Regions from separate parts of the Homo sapiens genome. Here all the other regions are linked to region 2. The links are contacts of gene promoters, found by promoter capture Hi-C in human tissues and cell types (Jung and others, 2019). All regions are on one chromosome and are shown on one strand. Each heading gives the region's core, a stretch centred on a gene start or on the middle of the fragment in contact. The rest is flanking DNA. Distances are from core to core; before and after follow the strand shown.

What was found. Contacts are between HindIII fragments. The study calls those that stand out against the background at their distance.
Region 1: a contact is called between a fragment that was not itself captured here and the fragment with the promoter of ERGIC3 in region 2, in 1 of the 25 tissues and cell types used here (adrenal gland).
Region 3: a contact is called between a fragment that was not itself captured here and the fragment with the promoter of ERGIC3 in region 2, in 1 of the 25 tissues and cell types used here (spleen).

What each region holds. Positions count from the first base shown.
Region 1 is chr20:34,893,852-34,897,768 of GRCh38, reverse strand. All of the region lies in intron 2 of ACSS2 (acyl-CoA synthetase short chain family member 2), which reads right to left. Among named protein-coding and RNA genes, the nearest start is that of ACSS2, 19 kb to the right of the region's middle. The HindIII fragment of the contact is 9,741 bases long and covers 1-3,917 here.
Region 2 is chr20:35,539,935-35,543,496 of GRCh38, reverse strand. It overlaps ERGIC3 (ERGIC and golgi 3), which reads right to left and starts at 1,419. Exons shown (of 13, transcript NM_015966.3): 1 at 1,312-1,419; 2 at 1,104-1,174; 3 at 897-984; 4 at 556-675. The coding sequence starts at 1,399. RefSeq lists an enhancer at 1,658-1,747. The HindIII fragment of the contact is 35,337 bases long and covers 1-3,562 here.
Region 3 is chr20:36,059,766-36,063,392 of GRCh38, reverse strand. No RefSeq gene overlaps it. Among named protein-coding and RNA genes, the nearest start is that of NORAD, 11 kb to the right of the region's middle. The HindIII fragment of the contact is 8,994 bases long and covers 1-3,627 here.

The DNA of each region.
Region 1 (3,917 bases), core at 1,069-3,568, 650 kb after region 2:
CAACCTCCGTCTCCTGGGTTCAAGCAATTCTCCTGCCTCAGCCTCCCAAGTACCTGGAATTACAAGCATGCACCACCATGGCCGGCTAATTTTTATATTTTTAGTAGAGATGGGGTTTCACCATGTTGGCCAGGCTGGTCTCAAACTGCCAAGCTCAGGTGATCCACCAACCTCAGGTGATCCACCCACCTCAGCCTCCCAAAGTGCTGGGATTACAGACATGAGCCACTGCATCCGGCCTATAACATGGATGAACCTTGAAAACATTATGCTTAGTGAAAGAAACCAGACACAAAGGGCCACGTGTTATATGATTCCATTTATATGAAACATCCAGAATAAGGCAGAGCCTTAGAGACAGAAAGTAGATTAGTGGTTGCCTAGAGCTGGAGGAGAAGAAGTTGGGGGAAAATGAAAAATGACTGCTAATGAGTATTGCACTTCTTTTGGGGGTGATGAAAATTTTCTAAAATTGAAAGTTGTACACCTTTGCAAATATATTAAAAATATGAATTGTATACTTTAAATGGGTGAATTATATGGTATAAATTATATCTCAATAAAAAATATAATTGCAATTTTGATTGGAATTGCAATAAATGTACAGATTAATTTGGAAAATACAGACATCTTTACAAACCTTCCTTTCCAGAAAGGTTGTAACTATTCATTCATTAGAAAGATTAAGCACTATTCATTCATTCATTCTTGCCTCTTTCTATTTTTTTTTTTCCTTTTTTTGAGACAGTCTAGCTCTGTTGCCCAGGCTGGAGTGCAGTGGTGCTATCTCGGCTCACTGCAACCTCCGCCTCCCGGGTTCAAGCAATTCTTATGTCTCAGCCTCCCGAGTAGCTGGGACTACAGGCCCCCGCCACCACAGGCTAATTTTTATATTTTTAGTAGAGACAGGGTTTCACCATGTTGGCCAGGCTCTTGACCTCAAGTGATCCGCCCGCCTTGGCCTCCCAAAGTGCTAGGATTGCAGGCGTGAGCCACCACGCCCAGCCTGTTTATTTCTAAAGACAACACTTGGGCACTTATTTTTTTCTAGCACTAGAGTCCTATGTAGACATCTGTTTCCCTCACTGGATTATGAGTTCCTTAATGGCAGACAGGATATCTTTTTATATGTTTTCTCCTTAGTGCTTACCACAAAGGCCAATACACAGTGAGCACTTAATACATAATTGTAAAATGAATAGATAAAAGAATGAATAAATAAATGAACAAACTTATCTCTGCTTATATGACCAGCTGGATCCAAGATGATCAAAGAGAGAAAGTATGGAAGGAGAGGGGATAAGATAGGATACAGATAAACAAGATAGATGCTGGACAGGCAGAGGAAAGACAAGAGTGGAATTTGTGGAATGGATTTTGGAATCATGTCAAGAAGTGTTTCTTGAGATCCTACAGTGGGCTCAGTCTGGGACTCTGTGAAGAGGCTGGAAGAGAACCCTGGAGCTGAGGTTCAGAGTATGGGACTCCTGCCCTGCAGTCTGGGCTATTATTGTACCCTGTCCTCTTGCCAGCTATTTTCAGGCCTTGATCCAAATACCTTTTGCATGTTCCCCTTGGCCAAAGTGGCTTTGGTGCCCGATGGATTGTGTACCTCTTCTCTTTTCTCACTGCCTACATGCCTACTTACAGGAGGGGAATCACACACTTGTTCCTACCATCCTGTGTCCCATGCTGGCCTTACCTATAACAAGTGAATGAGGGCAGAGCATTTGGAATGCAGCCCAAAAGAGGAATATGCCTAGAGCAGAAACAGAAAGTGGAAAGAAAATCCAGGGGCATCATTTTATGTGTACATCAAGTCTCTCAAGTATAATAGACACATGCAAAAATATTCATTACAATGGTTCTCTATTATCTAGGTCAAAGGCAGTTTAAATCATTAGTCCTCAATCTACGGTACTCTATTCCTGTGAGTACCTGCACAGAAAAATATGAAGAGAATAAATGTCTAGATCCTCAACTTCCATATGTAATATTTCCTAACAATGATCTGTCTGAGTTGGTTCTTCTTTCTCACTCTCTTTTACAATTACCCTTCTCCCACGTTAAACAAGAATGTCATAGCTCTCTCTTATCTCAAACTTTATTATGGTACAATGACAGGGTATGAACAAAGTGTTAAACAAAGGGACAATTTGAGAATGTATAACTTCTGAGGGAGAGCCCCAAGAAAGCAAATCAATGAGAGCTTCTCTGAGAAATCAGTATTGAAAGAATTGGCATCTTAATTCATCCACGTAACAAACTCATGGCAAGACTACTTGCCTTATATCTCTTAGAATTACAACTCAGAAGTGAAACAGTTATCACAGAGTCATATATTAACATATTTATCTTAAGAAAGAAGTTAGGCAATTTCTAACACAGTAGATCTGATTTGGCTGATTATGTTGGGTGATAACTGGCTATGCAAAACAGGTTGTATGGTAGATGTCTTCTATAAATTATATGAGCTAAATTTGCAGTGCCAATGTTTTGAAAGAGGTATAACCTATATGTGCATATATATATATGTGTGTATATAATATGTAAAATGTTTTGGAAATTCGATTTTTTGCAATTTTTAAATCTTATGATAAAATTTTTAGATATGAACATTATGTCAAGAGTTACATAATTTTTCAAAATTCTTTTAGGTATATAATTTTAAGAGTTTAAGGTTATTAATCTAAATAATTTTTCAATGGTACTTTGTCCCTCCCCCCAACATCAGAATTGTCTGAGGAGGTTACAAAAATACAAGTCAGAGGTCTTATCCTCTGGAGATTCTAACTCAATAGTCTGGGATAGGGTCCAGAAATCTGGATTTCTAACGACATCCTCAGGTAATTATTTACATAAACTAAAATTGGGAAACCCTGGCTCTGAATATGGAGTCATCAGACTAGATTGTTTACCCCTAATTCAATGTATAATTTACACAAACTTTCCCCTCTCTCTGAGCCTATTCTTGTGGTCTTAGCAAGTACAGCATGGCTATCCATATAAATAAAATTAGATTTCTGTCAGTTTGTTTCCCATCATATGAAAACAACTAGACAGATTTTTAACAAATCCAGATGTTGTATTAGGACTCCCTAACTTCTTTTTTGAGACAGGGTCTCACCCAGGCTGGAGTGCAGTAGCACGATCACCGCTCACTGCAGCCTCAACCTCCCAGGCTCAAGAAATCCTCCCACCTCAGCCTCCCAAATATCTGGGACCACAGGCATGCATGACCATACCCAGCTAATTTTTTATTTATTATTATTATTTTTTGAGACAGAGTCTCACTCTGTCACCCAGGCCGGAGTGCAGTGGCATGATCTTGGCTCACTTCAACCTCTGCCTCCCAGGTTCAATCGATTTTCCTGCCTCAGCCACCCGAGTAGCTGGGATTACAGGTGTGAGCCACCACGCCTGGCCTAATTTTAAAATTTTTTATAGAGATGGGGTCTACCTGTGTTGCCCAGGCTGATCTCAAACTCCTGAGTTCAGTGATCCTCCCTCCTCAGTCTCCCAAAGTTCTGGGATTACAGGCATGAGCCACTGTGCCTGGCAGATTCTCTAACTCACTATATGTGGCAGTTTGGAGGACACCTCAAGTAACCATCCTCAAAAGCAGCTCAGAAACTAAAGTTCAACAAGAACCCTCTGTGACTGCTCCTTTGGATAGATTTTCATGTATTAAAATATCATGGTCAAAAAGAAGCAAACGTTGGTTTCAAAAATTAGTCTCTGGTCAAAAAAATCACACTTAGAAATGCAGGTGTTCATATGCTCTAGAGATGTTTTCTGTACGGGCAACTCTGTGTGTAAAGTATTCCAGGGTGAATAGTTTCAGGGTTGTATTTATTTTATTTAAATAAAATAATGATGCTCCAAGATGGTAAAACCATAAGGTAACCATGATAATA
Region 2 (3,562 bases), core at 170-2,669:
TACCAGGCATTTTACACATATGACTTCATTTGATCTTACAATTCCATGTGGTTGGTACTACTGTTTTATTACCACTTTCTAGCTGAAGCTCACAGACTGCAGGAGACAAAGCTAGATGTGAACCCAGGCAATCTGACTTGAGAACCTAAATTCTCATTAAACCACCTGCATTCCAAAGGGGAAGAGCATTAAGGGCTGAATTAAGCCAATGGGCTGGGAAAGCAAACACTCAAAGAAGCCTGGGTCCATCTAGACAGTTCTACCAAGGCAAGAGCACATAAGACCTATCTTCAAACCTCTGGTATTCAAACTACCATCTGCAGGTATTGAGGACCTCTGAGAATAATAGCCAGGTAGATTACCTGACTCGATATGTATAGAGGATTTTAGCTCACTCTGACTCTTACTAGCTGGGGGACCCTAGGCAAGTCACTTGACTTCTCTAGCTCTTAGTTGTTTAATGTATCACTATGCCTGCCACAGTTCACTTGCTAGCAGATAGGCTTGGGTACATCCAGCTTTGGGATCTGAGACCCGGCCCCCTCCCCTGGTTACCATGCCGCTCAGCCTCTGAGCTCACGGGGATGCCATCTTTATCTAGTCGTTGCTTGAACAGGTTGTGTTCCACATCCAGCTGCTGTTCTCCGGCCACATCCATGGCATCAATACTCAGATCTGGAAGCAGGAAAATCAGGCTAAGGTACTGGGACCCTAGGGACAAGGGGATGTGGGTTTTGGAGGGGAAGGGGATACTGGGCCTGTCTTGGGGCAGAACGGGATGAGGAGAAGGAGGTTGTCCTGGGGTCCAGTCCAGAACCTAAGGGTGGAGGTGTGAATCTGGCAGCCCACATGAGAACCCTGGGTCTCTCCAGTCCCACCCATGGTGAGGTACTCACAGGCACAAGGCATGTGCGGAAAAAGTACATCGATGTTGATCTTCAGTTTATCTCCCCGCGACTTGTCCACGTAGAGCTCAGGATGCACCTGGGGCAGCGCTACCTCAGTAAGACTTAGCCCCAAACCTCTCCTTCCCCACTCCCACCCCTAAAGGTCCTACTCCTAGAATGCCAAGCCCCGCCCACGCACTAAGCCCCGCCCCTTACCTCCGTGGTGAGGTAATACTGCAGCTCGGACAGGAACAGTAGCAGCATGAGAAGGCCACTGACAATGGTCACTGCAGGACAAGGGGCGAGGGTCAGAATGGCCTCGAATCCGCTCCCTCAGACACCGGCAGGCCAGTCAGAGTCCAGGAGCCCGGGCTAAGCTCTAGGACGCCCCCCTCCACGCGACCCCGGCCCCGCTGCGGCCTACCGGTGGCGCCCCCGCAGGTCTTGACCCGGAAGTCCTCCAAAGTCTTGGGGTAGGCATCGAACTGCTTCAGCTTCCCCAGCGCCTCCATGGGGACCGGCCGGAAAGGGGACGCCAGCCGGCCCGCCCCTACAGACTCCCTCTTCCGGCCTGGAGCCACGCCCCCCTCTTTTTCCTCACGCAGGCGCAGCAAACCGCACGCTTGGCCCCACCTTTAGCCGCGTTCTCTTACAGGCGGCCCCGCCCAACGATGCTGCCACGCCCCCTTGCGCGGGCAATTGGGTCTGGAAGCTACTGCCCCGGCCTCCGCTGTCCGGGGCGGGATTTTGAGGACTGGGGTGCGAGGAGTTCTCTGCGGGGTTAGAAACGCTAATAGCACCGTTCGTGTGCCTTGTGCTCGGAACTGCACCAGGTGTTTAAGACTCTTGGAACATCTTGGAATATCCTGGAACAGTGGTTTTTCGAGTGTACCGGACCGGCCGCATCATTATCAACTGATTACCTATTAGAAATGCAAATAATTGATTCCCACCTACTGAAGCCGAAACGCTAGGAATGGCATCGGATGATTCTGATGTAAAGTAAGGGTGTCCGCCCTGAAAGCAGGTGTGACTTATCTCCGTTTTCCAAAGAGCAAACTGTGACCTGGAGAAGTTAAATAACTTGCCCAAGATCACAGCCAATTAATAGCAGGACCTGCTTCCAGCCCAGTTCTTCTGGACCTCAAAGTACTCTGGGAATCAGGGTCTTTTGGGTTGATTTTACCTAAACAGCGTCCCAGTGCTTCTCCTGAGCGCTGCTTTCTGAATATTACCCTAAATTGCTCTCCAGGCCCTGGGATCCTCACGGACACGCTCTATCCCTCCAGGTTTAGACTCAAGTGATATGGAGCTTAAGCTCTCCCTGACACTTCCCATTGCAGCCCAGTGTCTCTAGAGGGACAGCTCCCACAGTAATGCAGCTGCAATGAGTAAGATATAAAAGCTCATAGGCTTTCATACAGGAATTCCACTTTAGGAAGTAAAAGCACCATGTCAAGGTTAATAGAAAAATTTTGAAAAAGAAAAAATATGTAAGCAGCTATCCAAGGTTAACAGAAAAAAATTTTAATATAAGGATAAAAGTACCATGATCTGGGTGGTTGTTACACCTTAAGATATTGAATCTGTCTCTTAAAGATTTTAAGTGCACCACATCATAAAGATGTATGCATGAGATTGTTCAATGGCAAAAATCTGGAACCAGCCAGAATGCCCACTGATACATTAAATAAATTGAATAAATCACGATACACCCATTCTATGGAATATTAGGCCACTTTTCAAAAGAATGAGGTAGATTTACTCCTTTAGGTATACTAAGAATGTATTTTTAAGGGGGAAAAGATGCAAAGTAATGTGCATTCCATCATTCCATTTTTTAATTAAAAATTGGGCTGGGCACAATGGCTCACACCTGTAATCACAGCACTTTGGGAGACCGAGGAGGATCACATGAGGCCAGGAGTCTAAGACCAGCCTGGGCAACACAGCAAGACCCCACTCTACAAAAACTTTAAAAACTACATCTGTAACCCTAGCACTTCAGGAGGCCGAGCCAGGAAGCATCACTTGAGTTCAGGAGTTTGAGACCAGCCTGGTCAACATGGTGAAACCCCATCTCTACTAAAAATACAAAAATTAGCCAGGCGTGGTAGTGTGCTCCTGTAAACCCAGCTACTTGTGAGTCCGAGGCAGGAGAATCGCTTGAACCTGGGAGGCGGAGGTTGCAGTGAGCCGAGATCATGCCATTGCATTCCAGCCTGGGCGACAGAGTGAGATTCTGTCTCCAAAAATAAAAATAAAAATAAAAAAATTAGCCAGGTGTGGTGGCATGCGTCTATAGTCTCAGCTACCTGGGAGGCTGGGGTTGAGCCCAGGAGAGTTTGAAACTGCAGTTGTTACCAGGTTACCTGCAGTTGTTACCAGCATAGAGTTGTCCAGGTTCTTGGCGTGTTGAACAAAACACATAAAGTAACAGAAGGGCAACGAAAGACAAACAGCAACAGAAGAACGGAATAACAAAAGCATAGATTTATTGAAGACGATTCATAGCGGCAGCTGGTTAGAGCAAGCTGCTCAAGAGCCTCCTCAATCAGGGTTTGTATTAAGCTAAAGGGACCTGGCAACACCCCTAGGTGCCCTTTAGAAGCCTCCAGTTGGCTACACCTATGAAGGATTGGCCTGCGACCAAATCAGAGGCTGAAGTGGAGACT
Region 3 (3,627 bases), core at 440-2,939, 520 kb before region 2:
ACTGCACTCCAGCCTGGGCAACAGAGTGAAGCTCCCTCTCAAAAAAAAAAAAAAAAAAATCAAATGCCAGATCAGCAAACCTGCCCCATCTCCGGGGGGCATCTGCCTCTTTGCTTCTGCTGACTATGCTCTCAGACACCCACTGCTTCTAGTCTTCTAGTTAGGCAAAGTTGGCTAAGTCAGTTGACATCAAGTCTCAGTTTCTCCATCTGAGAAGGAAACGTTTGGCTTTATCTCACACATTTTATGGGGATCAAACATTATTGTATGTAGAAAATATTTTGTGAAGTGTAACAAACTATAAAATGGAGGGGGAGGAGAATGTGACTGATCATTTGTTGTGCATCTGTTTCACAGTCTGCAGGAGTTCTGACAGCATTCCTCTGAGTCAGGGCTAGTGTCCTCTTGTACAGATGAAGAGATAGTCTTCAAGGAATATGTTGACTTAACCAAAGTCACAGGCTTGCCAGAGTTAGAATGTAGAACTCTCTGACCTCTAAGACCAATCTCTTACACTGTTTGGCAAAGTGTGGCTTGGGTCCCACCAAGGCAGGGCAGGTGATCCCAATTGGGGCTTAGCCCAGGAGGGTTCTTGACTTGAAAGAATTCAAGGGTAAGTCAGTGATGTCAGATAGTAACTTTTATTGAAGTGGCAGTGTTCGGCAGCAGCAGACGTACTGCTTCTTGTGGAGCAGGGTTACCCCATAGGCAGTGTGCCTAGAGTAGCAGCTCAAACGCAGTTCTGCAGTCATATTTATACCCACTTTTATTTACATGCAAATTCAGGGGCAGATTATGCAGAAATTTCTAGGAAAAAGGTGGTAACTTCTTGGTCTTGGGTCACTACCATGGAAAGGGCAGTAACCTCTGAGTGTTGCCATGGCAATGGTAAACTGGCATGGCACACTGGTGGGCATGTCTTATGGAAAGCTTCTTCTACCCCATCCCTGCTTTAGCTAGTCCTCAATTTGGTCCAGTGTCTGAACCCCACCTCCAGACTCGAGTCCTGCCTCCTACCTCACTAGTGGTCATAATACGATGATTTCAGGTGGAACCCAGATGAACATTTTTTAAAACCAGGTTATGTCATAGTTTTTATTTTTAAGTATAGAGCCGGCTTACTCATACTACAAAAGTCCTACATTTCACACAGCCAGGGTGTAGTAGGCTGAATAATGGCCACCCAAATATATCAAGTCCTAATCTCTGGAAACTACTGTAAACATTACTTTATTTGAGAAAATAATTTTTGCAGATGTGATTAAGAATGTTGAGATGAGGATATCATTGAGGATTAGCCAAGTGGGCCCTAAATTCCATCACACATATCCTTATAAGAGAGAGGGAAAGGAAGATTAGACCAACACACACAGAAGAAGAGGAAGCAATGTGACCATGGAGGCAGAGACTGATGTGGCCACAAGCCAAGGATTGTTGGCAGCCACCAGAAGTTGGAAGAGGCAGACGGATTCTTCCCCAGAGCATCTGGAGGGAATACAGCCTTGCCAACACATTGACTTCAGCTCAGTGAAACTCATGTTCAATTTATGGCCTCCAGAACTATGAGAGAATAAATTTCTGTTGTTTTAAGCTACCAGGCTTGTAGTAATTTGTTTTGGCACCCACAGGAAACAAATAAATGGATCTACATGACTTCAAAATTCATGCCTCTTTTTTTCTCTTTTTATTATTTATTTATTTATTTTGAGACAGAGTCTCGCTCTGTTGCACAGGCTGGAGTGCAGTGGCGTGATCTCGGCTCACTGCAACCTCTGCCTCATGGATTCAAGTAATTCTCATGCCTCAGCCTTCCAAGTAGCTGGGATTACAGGCATGCGCCACCACGCCTGGCTAATTTTTGTATTTTTAGTACAGATGGGGTTTCACCATGTTAGCCAGGCTGGTCTCAAACTCCCAACCTCAGGTGATCCACCCACCTCGGCCTCCCAAAGTACTGGGATTATAGGCATGAGCCACCGCACCCAGCCTTCTCTCTTTTTAAAATAAACTTATTATTTTAAAATAATTTTACATTTACAGAAAATAAATGTAAGTCTTTGATTTAGAGTACAGAAATTTCCCATTGTGTTAGGGCTCACCAGAGAAAGAGAACCAATACGGTGTGTGTGTGCATAAAAGAGATTTATCATAAAGAATTGGCTTACCTAATTATGAAGGCTGGCAAGCCCGAATCCCACAGTGTGGGCCTGCAGGCTGATGACCCAGGAGAGCCAATGGTGCAGTTTGAAGGCAGCCTGCCGGAGAATTCCATCTTGCTTAGGGAGGCCAGTCTTTCTGTTTTATTCAGGCCTTCAACTGATCAAATGAGGCCCGCCCACACCCAAGTTCAACCATTTAAATGCTAATATCATCCAAAACCACCCTCCATGTTGACACATGAACTTAACCATCATACTCAAGAGTACAGAGAGTTCCTGTATAGCCCTCACCCTGCTTCCCCTATTATTACCACCTTACATTACTATGGCATTTGTCACAACTAAGAAACCAACACTGGTACATTCCTATGAACTAAATTCCACCTGTTTTCTGCTCCAGAGTCCCTTCTAGGACACCACACTACATTTAGTCATCATGTCCCTTTAGTTTCTTCTGGCTTGTAACAATTACTCAGGCATTTCTTGGTTTTTAAGACCTTGACAGCTTTGAGGAGTACTGGACAGGTATTTTACAGAGTGCCCCTCAATTTGGGTTCATCTGATGCTTTTCTCATAGTTAGACTGGGGTTATGAGTTTGGGGAAACATGTCATAGAGGTAAACTGCTCTTCTCATCAAATCATAGGTACATGTTATTGACATGACTTCATCAGGATACATGTTAGCGACATGACTTGATTACCTGGCCAAGCGAGTGTCTGTCCAGTTTCTCCCCTGGGAAGTTGCTTGTTTTTCCTCCCTTTCCACTCTTTGGAAGCAAGTTACTAAGTGCAGCCCACACTCAATGGGAGAATTAAGCTCCACAACCTGAAGGGGTTGTATCTACCTACATTATCTAGAATTCTTCTTTAAGGATCATTTGTCTCTTCTCCCTTATTTATTTATTTATTTATTTATTTATTTATTTATTTATTGAGACAGAGTTTCACTTTGTTGCCCAGGCTGGAGTACAATGGCACAACACTGGGTCACCACAACCTCCGCCTCCCAGGTTTAAGAGATTCTCCTGCCTCAGCCTTCCCAAGTAGCTGGGACTACAGGCATGCGCCACCACGCCTGGCTAATTTTGTATTTTTAGTAGAGACGGGGTTTCTCCATGTTGGTCAGGCTGGTCTTGAACTCCCGACCTCAGGTGATCTGCCTGCCTCAGCCTCCCAAAGTGCTGGGATTACAGGCGTGAGCCACCGCGCCCAGCCCTCCCTCATTTATTTATTTAATCATTTATAACAGTATGGACTCATGGATATTTGGTTTATACTTTGAACTTTATCCCAATACTATGTTATTTTGTTGCTCAAATTGTTCCAGCTTTGGCCATTGGGAGCTTTTTTTTTTTTTTTTTTTAGATGGAGTCTTCTCTGTCACCTAGGCTGGAGTGCAGTGGCGCGATCTCAGCTCACTGCAACCTCCGCCTCCGGGGTTCAAGCGATTTTCCTGCCTCAGCCTCC